Regions from separate parts of the Homo sapiens genome. Here regions 1 and 3 are each linked to region 2. Evidence: promoter capture Hi-C in human tissues and cell types (Jung and others, 2019). All regions are on one chromosome and are shown on one strand. The core of a region is centred on a gene start or on the middle of the fragment in contact, and the rest is flanking DNA. Distances in the headings are between cores, read along the strand shown.

Evidence for each region. The method cuts DNA at HindIII sites, captures the fragments that hold promoters and counts their contacts. A contact is called where the count stands out against the background at its distance.
Region 1: a fragment that was not itself captured here is called in contact with the fragment with the promoter of NPEPPS in region 2 in 1 of the 25 tissues and cell types used here (hippocampus).
Region 3: a contact is called between a fragment that was not itself captured here and the fragment with the promoter of NPEPPS in region 2, in 1 of the 25 tissues and cell types used here (mesenchymal stem cells).

The regions. Positions count from the first base shown.
Region 1 is chr17:47,658,059-47,662,506 of GRCh38, forward strand. KPNB1 (karyopherin subunit beta 1) reads left to right here. Exons shown (of 22, transcript NM_002265.6): 5 at 450-602; 6 at 3,061-3,120. Among named protein-coding and RNA genes, the nearest start is that of KPNB1, 10 kb to the left of the region's middle. RefSeq lists an enhancer at 2,100-2,249. The HindIII fragment of the contact is 3,309 bases long and covers 202-3,510 here.
Region 2 is chr17:47,528,410-47,532,805 of GRCh38, forward strand. It overlaps NPEPPS (aminopeptidase puromycin sensitive), which reads left to right and starts at 2,699. Exons shown (of 23, transcript NM_006310.4): 1 at 2,699-3,146. The coding sequence starts at 2,892. RefSeq lists silencers at 3,209-3,358, 3,389-3,568. The HindIII fragment of the contact is 19,464 bases long and covers 1-4,396 here.
Region 3 is chr17:47,334,375-47,339,327 of GRCh38, forward strand. EFCAB13 (EF-hand calcium binding domain 13) reads left to right here. Exons shown (of 25, transcript NM_152347.5): 5 at 822-982. Among named protein-coding and RNA genes, the nearest start is that of EFCAB13, 13 kb to the left of the region's middle. RefSeq lists an enhancer at 4,913-4,953. The HindIII fragment of the contact is 8,980 bases long and covers 1-4,953 here.

The DNA of each region.
Region 1 (4,448 bases), core at 606-3,105, 130 kb after region 2:
CTTTAGTCTGGGCAATACAGACCCTGTCTCTTAAGAACAGAAGAAGGACTGCTTCTGTCGTGAAGCTCCTTATGGCAGTCTTTTGGAGGGGATTGATTCCAGCACCCTCCTCAGGTACCAAAATCCTCAGATGTTCAAGTCTGTTACATAAAATGGTGTAGTATTTGCATATAACCTATGCACATCCTCCCATATACTTTAAATCATCTCTAGAATACTTACAATACCTAATTCAATGTAAATGCTATATTAATAGTTGGTATACTGTATTAAGGGAATGATGACAAGAAAAAAAGGTGTACATGCACCTTTTGGTGCAGTACAGATGCAACCATCCATTTTTTTTCCTCTAAATATTTTCAATCCATAGTTGTTTGAATCCACAGATGTGGAACCCATGGCTGCAGAGGGCTGACTGTATATTCATTGCACTTCTCTGCTTGTTACAGGACCCAGAGCAGCTACAAGATAAATCCAATGAGATTCTGACTGCCATAATCCAGGGGATGAGGAAAGAAGAGCCTAGTAATAATGTGAAGCTAGCTGCTACGAATGCACTCCTGAACTCATTGGAGTTCACCAAAGCAAACTTTGATAAAGAGGTAAGTTTTTTGACAATAAGGTATAGATTCAGACAGTAAGGGATGAAAGAGTTGAATGAAAGTTTTTTGTTTTGTTTTCTTAAGTTTATGGTTTAGAAAGTACCACCTACTTAAAAGTATTTGTTTCCAGTTTAGTCGAGTTCGTATTGTGTGAGATATCCCCATGGAGTGTTTGCCGTTTCTCATCATGCTTTTGGAAATAAAGTGTTTCTAAGCTTAGGTTTTTCCTTTTGCAGTCCAAAGTGTGGAATGTTGTTGGGTTTTTTTAAATTATAGGGCATGGTGGTGCATACTGGTACTCCAGCTACTTCAGAGGCTAAGGCGGGAGGATTGCTTGAGTCCAGTTATTCAAGGCCAGCCTGGGCAACAAAGTCAGATATCGTCCCTTAAAAAAAAGAAAGGAATAGGCTGGGCGATGTGGCTTAAGCCTGTAATCCCAGCACTTTGGGAGGCTGAGGCGGGTGGATCATCAGGTCAGGAGTTTGAGACCAGCCTGACGAACATGGTGAAACCCCATCTCTACTAAAAATACAAAAAAATTAGCCGGGTGTGGTGGCGTGCGCCTGTAATCCCAGCTACTCAGGAGGCTGAGGCAGGAGAATCACTTGAACCTGGGAGGCAGAGGTTGCAGTGAGCCGAGATTGCAGCACTGTATTCCAGCCTGGGCGACAGAGCAAGACTGTCTCAAAAAAAATAAAAAATAAAAAAAATAAAAGAAAGAAATTATGGTATGTACTATATATGTTGGTTTACTTTGGTTTCTTTTAAGATTGTGTGAATCTTTTGCCTTGTACTAAAGATTTTGTGGAGGCCGGGTGCTGGGGCTCACATCCAGTAATCCCAACACTTTGGGCCACCAAGGCAAGAGGATCACTTGAAGCCAGGAGTTTGAGACTAGCCTGTGCAACGTAACAAAACCCTGTCTCTAAAAAAATTTCTGTGGAGAAGAACAACTGAGTTGTTAACCAGTTTTGTGAGCTCTTGTGTTTACAGGGCTTATAATGGAAAAAAAATAATGAAAAATGAAATAAATAAAAATTATAGCAATTGGTCTGTTTCATACCACCTTAGGAAGGTGTTTTTAAGAAACAGGATATATAGCCAGGTGCTTTGGCACATGCCTGTAATCCCAGCTACTTGGGAAGCTGAGGTGGGAGGATCACTTGAGCCTGGGAGTTCAAGGCTCAAGATTTCACCACTGTACTTCAGCCTGGGCAACAGTGCAAGACTCTGTCTCCAAAAAAAAAAAATATATATATATGTATATGTATGTGTATGTATAATATATATGTAAACATTTTGGCTGAAAATGCAATGAATAACATAAAATTTACCATCTTAAATCATTTTTAAATGTATAGTTAGTTAAGTAGATTCACATTGCTGTGGAAACAATCTCCAGAACTTTTTCATCTTGCAAAACTGAAACTGTACATACTGAACAACAACTCCTCATTTCCCCCTTTCTCAGCCACTGGTAACGACCATTTTACTTTCAGTTTCTATGTATTTTACTACTCTAACGAAATACCTTACGTAAGTGGAATCATATTTGTCTTTTTGCGACTGGTTTGTTTTACTTAGTATGATGTCCTCGAGATTCATCTAAGGGGTAGCATTTGTCAAAATTGGCTTTTTAAGGGTGATTAATATTCCATTATATGTATATGCCACATTTTGTTTATCTAGTCTTCCATCCATGGCCATTTGGTTTGCATCCACCTTTTGGCTATTGTGGGTAATGCTGCTATGAACATGGGCATGCATGTGTATCTTTGAGACTCTGCTTTCAGTTCTTTAGGGTAAATACCGACAAGTAAAATTGCCAGGGTCATGGTCTGAAAGTATTTCTGTATATATGTTTGTTGACACTTCAGCTGGGTTTTTACCATTTCTTGACTTTGGAAAGGTCTGAAACCCCAGAGCAAATGGCAATTCTAATTGATTAGAAAACTGGATTTTTCCTTAATAGATTTTGGAAGATTTAGGAGGGTAGCACATAAAGTTCATTCTCCCTTTTCTCACCACATTTGATGTGAATTTGCTACCTCTCAGAAAACAAATTTGGTCTCTGAAATAAAGCAGATGTTTTGAATTCTCTTATATAAGGAAACTGATTTTCCTACATGTAAATTTTTATCTTTTAACCATTTTTATTTAAAACTTGTGACCTACATTTTTCTGTTTCCTCCCTGAAGTCTTTGTTAGTGGTCATTTTGGAGATTAAAAGATTAGGGACCTCATTGGAGGGCAAGTCACATAGCAGACACCGAAGGTAAACTCTTTATAGCCTTTATAGTGCTGTACCATCTCAAGGGAGAGTGGCTTGATTGTACCAGGCAGGGCTGTGTGGGGCCCTGAGGGGGAGTGAGAGGTTTTCCTTGTAGAGGGAGTCTGGAAATCTTCCTACGTACAGGTTATGCTCTCCTAATTCTCTTTATTTTTATTCCTCCTACAGTCTGAAAGGCACTTTATTATGCAGGTGGTCTGTGAAGCCACACAGTGTCCAGATACGAGGGTAAGTGTGAGGTTATATGAAAAATCTGTCTTACATCTTTCTTAGGAAATGTCAAATCTAATATAAGTTTGAAATACTGGGAATCAGTTGACTTCAGCAATAAGGTTTGATTAATATTGTTACTAATAATTAATATTCTGGCTGGGCATGGTGGCTCACACCTGTAATCCCAGCACTTAGGGAGGCCATGGCAGGCAGTTCACCTGAGGTTAGGAGTTTCATACCAGTCTGGCCAACATGGTGAAACCCTGTCTCTACTAAAAATAAAAAAAAATTAGCTGGGTGTGGTGGCACGTGCCTGTAGTCCCAGCTGCTGGGGAGGCTGAGGTACAAGAATCGCTTGAACCTGGGAGGTGGAGGTTGCAGTGAGCCAAGATCATGCCACTGCAAACAGACTCCATCTCAAAAAATAATAATGATAATTAATAAAAACATTAGAGAAGAGGGAAGAATTGTCATGGAAGTTGCCATCCTCTTAAAAAAGGTTTAAGGTGCCAGTGTGGTGGCTCACACTATAATCCCAGCAATTTGGGAGGCCAAAGCAGGAGGATCACTGAGGTCAGGAGTTGGAGACCAAACTGGGCAACATAGTGACACCATCTCTACTAAAAAATATGTATACACAAATAAACAGTTAAGGGAGAAAAGGTTTTCGATCAGCTTCGCTACTTCATTGCCGTAGGTTATTCAAGCCATTTCTACTAAAAAATATATATACACAAACAGTTAAGGGAGAAAAGGTTTTTGATCAGCTTTGCTACTTTATTGCCATAGGTTATTCAAGTGATTGTTTTCCCCTGTAGCCATTAAAGCAGCTTTGCTATTGCTATACCCAAAACCTGACCCTTCAAGAAGATAGAAGTAATATCTTCAGTCTGAATAGTATTAGTGAATTTAGCCGTACCATGGGTTCCACACGCACCTTTAATGCAAAAAAAAAGACTGAGGCCAGGCGCGGTGGCTTACGCCTGTAATCCCAACACTTTACAGGCGCATGTCTGTAATCCAGCTACTCAGGAGGCTGAGGCAGGAGAATTGCTTGAACCCGGGAGGCGGAGGTTGTAGTGAGCTGAGATCACACCACTGCACTCCAGCCTGGGAGACTCCATCTCAAAAAAAAAAAGGACTGGCTGTGGTGGCTCACACCTATAATACCAGCACTTTGGGAGACCGAGGCCAGAGGATCACTTGAGCCCAGGAGTTGGAGACCAGTCTGGGCAACATGGCGAAACTCCATGTCCACAAAGATTAGCTGTGCGTGATGGGGCGAGCCTGTAGTCCTAGCTACGTGGGAGGCTGAAGTGGGAGGATTGCTTGAGCCTGGTGGT
Region 2 (4,396 bases), core at 1,449-3,948:
GGATTGCAGCTTTTCAATCTGCCTTTCTGAAAAGTATGTAGGATTCAGAGGCTAAGAGGCCAGGCCCAGAGTCCAAAACTGTGCTGCCCAGTACAAGAGCCACTAACCACACGTGACTACTGATCACGTGAAATGTGGATAGTCAGAATTTAGATGTGCTATAAATGTAAAATACATGCTGGATTTCAAAGTTGGTGTGAACAAAATAAGTAAAATATCTCATTAATTTTTTTTTTTTTGAGACGGAGTTTCACTCTTTTTGCCCAGGCTGAAGTGCAGTGCTGTGATCTCAGCTCACTGCAACCTCCGCCTTCTGGGTTCAAGTGATTCTTCTGCCTCAGCCTCCAGAGTAGCTGGCTAGGATTACAGGCATGCGCCACCATGCCTGGCTAATTTTTGTATTTTTAGTAGAGACGGGATTTCACCATGTTGGTCAGGCTGGTCTTGAACTCCTGACCTCAGGTTATTCACCTGCCTTGGCCTCCCAAAGTGCTGGGATTACAGGCGTGAGCCACCGTGCCCGGCCTCATTAATATTTTTTATATTGATTACATGTTGAAATGATAATATTTTGGATATGTTGGGTTAAATAAGATGTGTTTTCATTTGTTTCCTTTTTACTTTTTTGTGATGTGGCTACTATAAGATTTAATACTACCTAGTGGTTCATAGTATGTTTCTGCTGGACAGTACTGGTCCATTACAACATACTACATTCAGTTTTGGAAATTACTGGGTTCTATCTGAGAAATTTCTATAAAGAAATATGAAGATTATGGATAAATCTCCTTGCCTTTGACACTTTAAATAACATTTTTAAAATTGTTATTTCATTTTTATTTTTTTAGAGACAGGGCCTCACTCTGTCATCTGGAGTGCAGTGGCACCATTACAGCTCACTGCAGCCTCCATCCACCTCCTGGGCTCAAGTGATCCTCCCGTCTCAGCCTCCCGAGTAGCTGGGATCATAGGCACACGTCACCACACCTGGGCCCACTTTTTTTTTTTTTTTTTTGAGACAGAGTCTCGTTGTCGCCCAGGCTGGAGTGTAGTGGCGTGATCTTGGCTCGCTGCAACCTCCGCCTCCCGGGTTCAAGCGATTCTCCTGTCTCAGCCTCCCTAGTAGCTGGGACTACAGGCACATGACACTATGCCAGGCTAATTTTTGTATTTTTAGTAGAGATAGGGTTTCACCATATTGGCCAGGCTGGTCTCGAACTCCTGACCTCGTGATCCACCTGCCTCAGCCTCCCAAAGTGCTGGGATTACAGGTGTGAGCCACCGTACCTGGCCCTGGCCCCCCTTTTTAAAGATAATTTCAGTTACATTATATATATATATATATATATATATATATGCATTTGTATATATACCTCCTCAATTTGCAAGGTATCTACAGAACTGAGAGAGCCACAGATAGTTCACCATTAAAGAGGCCATGATTGCTGAAGGATCTTTTAGTTTAAAAAGAAACAAAGATGAAAATGGGGAAAAGGTGAAACATCCCATTTTATTTATTTATTTATTTATTTATTTATTTATTTTGAGACAGAGTCTCACTCTGTCGCCCAGGCTGGAGTGCAGTGGCGCAATCTCGGCTCACTGCAACCTCCACCTCCAGGGTTCAAGCGATTCTCCTACCTCAGCCTCCCGAATAGCTGGGACAACAGGCGCCCGCCACCAAGCCCGGCTATTTTTTTTTTTTTTGTATTTTTAGTAGAGACGGGGTTTCACCATATTGGCCAGGCTGGTCTTGAACTCCTAACCTTGTGATCCGCCCGCCTCGGCCTCCCAAATTGCTGGGATTACAGGCGTGAGCCACCGCGACCGCCCGAAACATCCCATTTTAAACATTAAATCATGGAAACAAAAATACAGTTTTTGAAATCACTCCCTCAAAAGTCCAAATCTCATTGGTTGAAGTAACCTAGATTATTAAAGGTTTTTTTTTTTTTTTTTTTTTTTGAGACGGAGTCTTGCTCTGTCGCCCAGGCTGGAGTGCAGTGGTGTGATCTCGGCTCACTGCAAGCTCCGCCTCCCGGGTTCACGCCATTCTCCTGCCTCAGCCTCCTGAGTAGCTGGGACTACAGGCGCCCGCCACCACGCCCGGCTAATTTTTTGTACTTTTAGTAGAGACGGGGTTTCACCATGTTAGCCAGGATGGTCTCGATCTCCTTGACCTCGTGATCCGCCCGCCTCGGCCTCCCGAAGTGCTGGGATTACAGGCGTGAGACACTGCGCCCGGCTATTAAAGGTTTTATAACAAAACTTTCAAATCATCCTTTGAATTTGCTACTTAACAGGAACTAAGGCCAGAGAGCCTCAAGTCAGGGCTTTTCGCTGACCTGGAGGCAGAATCCAGTTTGGGGTTTTGCTTGTAACTGGTATTTTATGCATGCGACCCTGGCTGAACTGACCAACTGCGTAGGCTTCAATTTCCCGAGGGCCCCTTATGCCTTTCCTTCCTCTGATCAAGCCCTTCCCGGCTCCTTCCAGTTGGAAGGCCGCCCCCAGTCCTGAGCGGCGCCGACAGGTGCAGCGCCCGCCTCCAGCCCTGCGCTCGCGCGAGCAACCCGACGCCCTCCCGCCCCGCCGGCCGCGCCCTCGTCCTCGCCGCTCCGCCCTCTGCCCAGGCGTGCGCGCGCACTCCACGGGGGCGCGCCCGGCCGGCGGGGCCGCGCACGCAGCCGCCGCCACCACTTCCCCCTCTCCCTCCCTCCTTGCGGGCCCTCCTCCCCTTCCCTCCCCTCCGCCCCCTTCCCCGTAGGCAGCCCGCCCGCCAGTCCGCCCGCACCGCCTCCTTCCCAGCCCCTAGCGCTCCGGCTGGGTCTCTCCCCCGCCCCCCAGGCTCCCCCGGTCGCTCTCCTCCGGCGGTCGCCCGCGCTCGGTGGATGTGGCTGGCAGCTGCCGCCCCCTCCCTCGCTCGCCGCCTGCTCTTCCTCGGCCCTCCGCCTCCTCCCCTCCTCCTTCTCGTCTTCAGCCGCTCCTCTCGCCGCCGCCTCCACAGCCTGGGCCTCGCCGCGATGCCGGAGAAGAGGCCCTTCGAGCGGCTGCCTGCCGATGTCTCCCCCATCAACTACAGCCTTTGCCTCAAGCCCGACTTGCTGGACTTCACCTTCGAGGGCAAGCTGGAGGCCGCCGCCCAGGTACAGCGACCCTCGGGCCCCGGGGCAAGCTGCGGGGCGAGCAGTTAGGCCGCGCCCGCGGGCTGGACTCAGGGCCCGGCCGGGAGGGCGGGCGGGCCTCGGGTCGGGGCTGGGCGGCCGCAGGGCGCCGGGTTCGGCGTGCTCTGCCTTGCTCTGTTGGGGCTGGGGCTGGGGCTGGGGCTGGGGCCGGGGCAGGGACCGTGGCCGGAGCTGAGGCTGGGGCTCGGGCTGGGGCCGCGCTGCGGGAGCTCTGGGGAGCCGGCGGCCCGGCCATTGCGCCCCTCCCCGGCGAGCACACCTGTGTGGGGCTTTCCCCCCCGCCCCGGACCCTTCTGGGCTTGATAGTGTTCCGGGGGAGGCTGGAGGGTGTTGGGGGAGGACGGAGAGGTCATGGGAGTCCCCGCTCTGCCTCAACCACCTGACTCAGTTCTTTCTTTGGTTTCTCTCTACACCTCTCGGGTGATAGATTGGAGGGGGTGGTCATTTGGGACTCTGGCCGCCGCGTTGGAGCGACGAGGGGAGCTTCTAGAAGGGGGGGGAGAGGGTGAGAACGAGAATGTTAATCCCAGGCAGCCTCGCTGACTTCTCCCCGCCTGCTCCAGCCCAGGGGCTGGGTTTCCAAGATGATCCGCCCCCTCCCCCTTTCCCTCAAGTGACAGTGCAGCAGTGACTTTGTTCTCTCTTAACCTCCAGAGAAGCTGCGGGAGGACCCCATCTCCGCTTTTCCACCTATCTTCCTAGCTTTGCGGCCTTCGAAGCTGGTGGATTTATTGCTACCGTGATGGTTGCTTAGCAGTACCTTCCTCTCCCAAGAAGCTGGCTGGGCGCGGTGGCTCATGCCTGTAATCCCAGCACTTTGGGAGGCTGAGGCGGGCGCACTTGAGGTCAGGAGTTCGGGACCAGCCTGACCAACATGGTGAAACCCCCGTCTCTACTAAAAATACAAAAATTAGCGGGGCGTGGTGGCGGGCCCCTGTAATCTCAGCTACTCGGGGGCTAAGGCAGGAGAATCACTTGAACCCGGGGGGCAGAGGTTGCAGAGTCGAGATCGCGCCACTGCATTCCTGCATTCCAGCCTGGGCGACAGAGTGAGACTCCGTCTCAAAAAAAAAAAAAAAAAAAAAAAGGAAAGAAAGAAGCTATTAGTTATAACATACCACCGGTGAAAATATTCCATTACTCTTCACTGCAGTTTTTGGTGAATCATACTCCACTCCCTCCTCCCGCAGCATTATCTGAAGTATTGTTTG
Region 3 (4,953 bases), core at 437-2,936, 200 kb before region 2:
TTTTGAAAACATTTTCTCCCAGTCTGTGACTTGTCCTTTCATTGTCTTGATATGGTGTCTTTCACAGAGCAGAAGCTTTAAATGAAGTTTAACTTATCGATTATTTCTTTCATGGATCATGGCTTTAGTTTGTATCTAAAATCGAGTTAATGTTTATAATAAAAATACTGCTTTGCAAAGAGTATGATAAACTTTTGTATCTTTCTTGGCAAAGAGTATGATAAACTTTTGTACCTTGATGCCTTAAGAGCTAGATCCAGGCTGGGAGAGGTAGCTCATGCCTGTAATTCTAGCACTTTGGGAGGCTGAGGTGGGAGGACTGCTTGAGCTCAGAAGTTCGAGACCAGCCTTGGCAATGTAGGGAGACCTCGTCTCTACGAATAATAAAAAATTAGCCACGCATGATGGTGCATGTCTGTGGTCTCAGCTTCTCAGGAGGCTGAGGTGGGAGAATTGCTTGAGCCTGGGAGGTCAAGGCTGCAGTGAGCCATGATTGCACCACGGACTCCACCCTAGGCAACAAAAAGAGACCCTGTCTCAAAAAAAGAAAAAGTGCTAGATGCAATAACTGTTAGACATATTCATAAATGATGTTCTTTTATAGCTGTATAATGCACTAAGGATAATTGGAGTTATTTAGAGTATGTACTGAATCTGGAAAAATAATACATTAGTGAGTAAAACCTTTTTCAACAAAATTCTCTTCGGTAGCACTATTTGAGAAAGAATATCAATCTAAAATGAATGATTGACCCAGAATGTCATATTTAATATGTATGTGCAAAGAGGACATGCTTGATTGTGGCTCTTATATTCCCCAGGCAGAGGAAAATATTGACTTATTAGATGATGGCTCTAATTCTTTTGCAACTGACTTGTCATCAGGAACTATTAACCACAAGAAATACATCAAGTTTTCTAAAACAATAGAGAAGGAAATTTCACCGGAAATTAGGAGTTTGAGCCCAGAATATAAAAAAATGTAAGTTAAAAACTCTGAACTTACTTTATTGAATTATACTTTTGCAAGTTAAGAATGCCAAAATGTAGCTGTGGCTTATGCGTTCTCATAATGTACCATGTGTATAGGATCATGCATATTTGTGGTCATTCTTTCAGTAGCATAATTTTAACTCCTAAATAGCTGTTCTTACATTTTTTCTGACTTCTCTCACAGCCATCTATAGGCTTCCATGTTGTCTAAGTTGGTTCTCACATTGTTATAAAGAACTACTTGAGACTACGTAATTTATAAATAAAAGAGGTTTAATTGCTCATGGTTCTGCAGACTTTACAGGAAGCGAGGCTGGGGAAGCCTCAGGAAACTTAGAATCATGGTGGAAGGGGAAGGGGGAGCAAGCATATCTTCACAAGGCCAGCAGGAGGGAGAGTGAAGAGGGAAGTGCCACATACTTTTAAACAAACAGATCTCATGAGAACTCACTCAGTATCATGAGAACAACAAGTGGGAAATCTGCCCCCATGATCCAATCACTTCCTACCAGGTCTCTCCCCCAATATTGGGGATTACAATTCAACATGAGATTTAGGTAGGGACACAGAGTCAAACTATATCACATGTGGAAGCCTATAAGTAAGCTATAAGCTAACTGGAATCATAGGATTCTAGTTAGAGGAGAACAGTTATCCATATGTCTGTTAAGTTTGTCTTAAAGAGAATTTAAGAAGGAAACAGAAGGTTCTTTCCTCTAGGCTTGGCTTTGTGTCTTCCATGAAATTAAGATATTTGAATAGTTTTTTTTTTTTTTTGAGATGGAGCCTCACTCTGTCACCCAGGCTGGAGTGCAGTGGCGCAGCCATGGCTCACTGCAACCTCCACCTCCTGGGTTCAAGTGATTCTTCTGCCTCAGCCTCCTGAGTAGCTGGGACTACAGGCGTGCGCCGTCACACTCGGCTATTTTTTTTTTTTTTTTTGAAATGGAGTCTCGCTGTGTTGCCCAGGCTGGAGTGTAGTGGCACGATCTTGGCTCACTGCAAGCTGCGCCTCCTGGGTTCAAGCCATTCTCCTGCCTCAGCCTCCCAAGTAGCTGGGATTATAGGCGACCACCACCATGCATGGCTAATTTTTTGTATTTTTAGTAGAGATGGGGTTTCACCATGTTAGCCATGATGGTCTCGATCTCCTGACCTCATGATCCGCCTGCTTCTGCCTCCCAAAGTGCTGGGATTATAGGCGTGAGCCACCGCACCTGGCCAATTTTTTTTTTTTTTTTTTTTGTATTTTTAGTAGAGACGGGATTTCACCATATTGGCTAGGCTGGTCTTGAACTCCTGACCTCATGATCTGCCCGCCTGAGCCTCCCAAAGTGCTGGGATTACAAGCGTGAGCCACTGCACCCGACCAAGCTATTTGAATCTTTTAGCAGTTCTTTCTTGTATACTGCATTGCCTGGTTGCCTTTTGTTAGTCGTAGAAGTTCTAGCATTTTAAATGCATGTAGGAGAAATACTCAATCTGTATTTATTATTTATAAAATGACTAAAAAATAAAAAAAAATCTAAAAGCCTCTGGGAAAACATTCAGAGCTTATGTCACTTTATCTTTAACTAAATGCTCATCTTACCTGTTGGTGAAACTGGAAATTACCTACACATTGTGATTGGAGAGGCACCTAAATAAAAATCTCCTCTACCTTCCAGAAATCTGTATTTCACTTTTATTTAATCTAACATTTTCACCACTACTCCTGTTTGTTAGATGGCAAAAGATGAAGCAATTATTTCTAGAAGACTACAATAAAACTTGTTACCTAGGAAGAAAAGGAAGGTCGTGGGAGGTTAGGAAGAAAAGGAAGGTCGTGGGAGCATCCCTTTACCTTCTTCCATTAGCTTTCTTCAAGATAGGTTAGCACTGTGGGAAGCACATGCCTCAAAAGAATGGGGTACAGTGCATGTTTTCCCTTGTAAGTGGGAGCTAAACAATTCATACACATGGACATACAGAGTAGAATAATAGACATTGGGACTACAAATGTAGGAGGAGGGGTGAGGGTTGAATTTGGTGATGGGTACACTGAAAGCCTAAACTCACCACAATGCCTATGTGCATGTAAGAAATCTGCACTTGTACCCTCTAAATATATAAAAATAAAAAAAATTTAAAAATGGGGTACAGGACAAATGTTTTTACTTATTCATTATTTATACCAAATCATCCTTATTCTATGAAATGTGTGAAGTAGCTCATAATTAAAAAATACACTTTTGTTTACCTAAATAAGGAAACTGAGGCAAAATTAATATAAGTAGAGAGTTTGTTTAGGCCCAGGTTGAGGACTGCAGCCTGGGAAACACTGGGAGGTACTCTGAAGAACAAAGGAGAGGTTCAATATTTTAAAGAAAAAAGGAACCAATCAGGAGATGGGTTGATTACAAAAGTTGTTTTTCAGGAATTCTTACTGGCTTACAGAAATAACATTGATTAGTGATTGGCTATATATTGCTGAACTGTAGCGTATGAGTTATAGTATCCAGTGTATGGCATTGTTAGGTTAATTTGTGGCTACTTGGTGACAGTCTAGAGTCCACATAGCAGGCAACTTTGAAATAATTGCTTAGCTCAAGGGGATGTGAGACAGTGACTCCTATCTCATTTTAATGCCTCTTTGGGCCTGATAATTTAAAGAGGTCTTGCATTCATCAGATTAAAAATTTATTTTCTTTATCATTTTTTGAAAAAAGATGAAAGATCAAAAGTCATGTAATGGAGTGGAAGTCATGATTATATTAGAAATAAGAAGGCTCAACTTCAATAAGGATATATGGGGGATATAAAGCACCAGTAAACTGCAGGTTGTGACTCATTAATGGGTAATGGGTCATGAAATCAGGTTAGGAGGTCACTACTAGTTTTTTTTTTTTTTTTTCTTTCTTGAGTCAGGAGTTTACTCTACCACCCTGGCTGGAGTGCAGTGGCATGATCGTAGCTCATCGCAGCCTGGAACTCCTGGGCTTAAGGGATTCTCCTACCTCAGACTCCTGAGTAGCTAGGATTGCAGGTGTGCACCACCACGCCTGGCTAATTTTTAAATTTTTTGGAGAGGTGAGGTCTCACTATATTGCCCAGGCTGGTCTTGAACTCCTGGCCTGAAGCAGTCCTGCCACTTTGGCCTCCCAAAGTGCTGGGATTACAGGTGAGAGCCACTGCAGCTGGTTTACTACTAGTTTTTTTTTTTAAATAAATAAGTTAGAATAGAATTGAAAACATTAGAGTGCTTTTTCCTCCTCCTCTCTCTCCCTTGCTTTCTATTGCACCTCTTATCTCTGTATATGTATATTGTACCTCAATAGAAAATTTACTTTTGACTGTGGGTCATAGGCAAAATAGTTGAAAGTCCTTGCTTTGAGACTAGAGGACTGCAGAGGGATCTAATCATATGGCAGCTTCAGGGAAGTGAAGAGCAAAGTATGGGGGTTCACAGGGTATGAATTTGGGAGATTGGATTTAAAGGGATAGTGTGTCAAAAAAGCAAGATACTTTTTCTTGGAGAAATAAGTCAGTAAAAAAGAGCAGGGTACACCATAAATACATACAATTTTATTTGTCAATTAAAAATAAATTTAAGAAACAATAAATATATATAATTTTGTCTATCAATTTAAAATAAAATAAATAAATAAAATTGGAAAAAAAGGCCAAGGTACTTGCTAAAGAAAGGGAGTGGCATGAATTATAATATATTTTTTTATGTCACAGTTTTGCTTAGGGCTGAGTTCACCTGAAGCTGTTGTAGATATAATCTAGTTAGTCACTGTCCTGATGGGTTGTTCTTGAAATTTAAGTCTACCCTAGATTACTTGAAGCACTTTCTAAGAGTATGTGTCTTCTCTTCTAAAATTTAATTCAAATGTAATTCATAATTACATTTTATCTTATTGTTGTGTAGTTTATGGCAGTGGTCTCCAGACTTTTTGGCACTAGGGACCAGTTTAA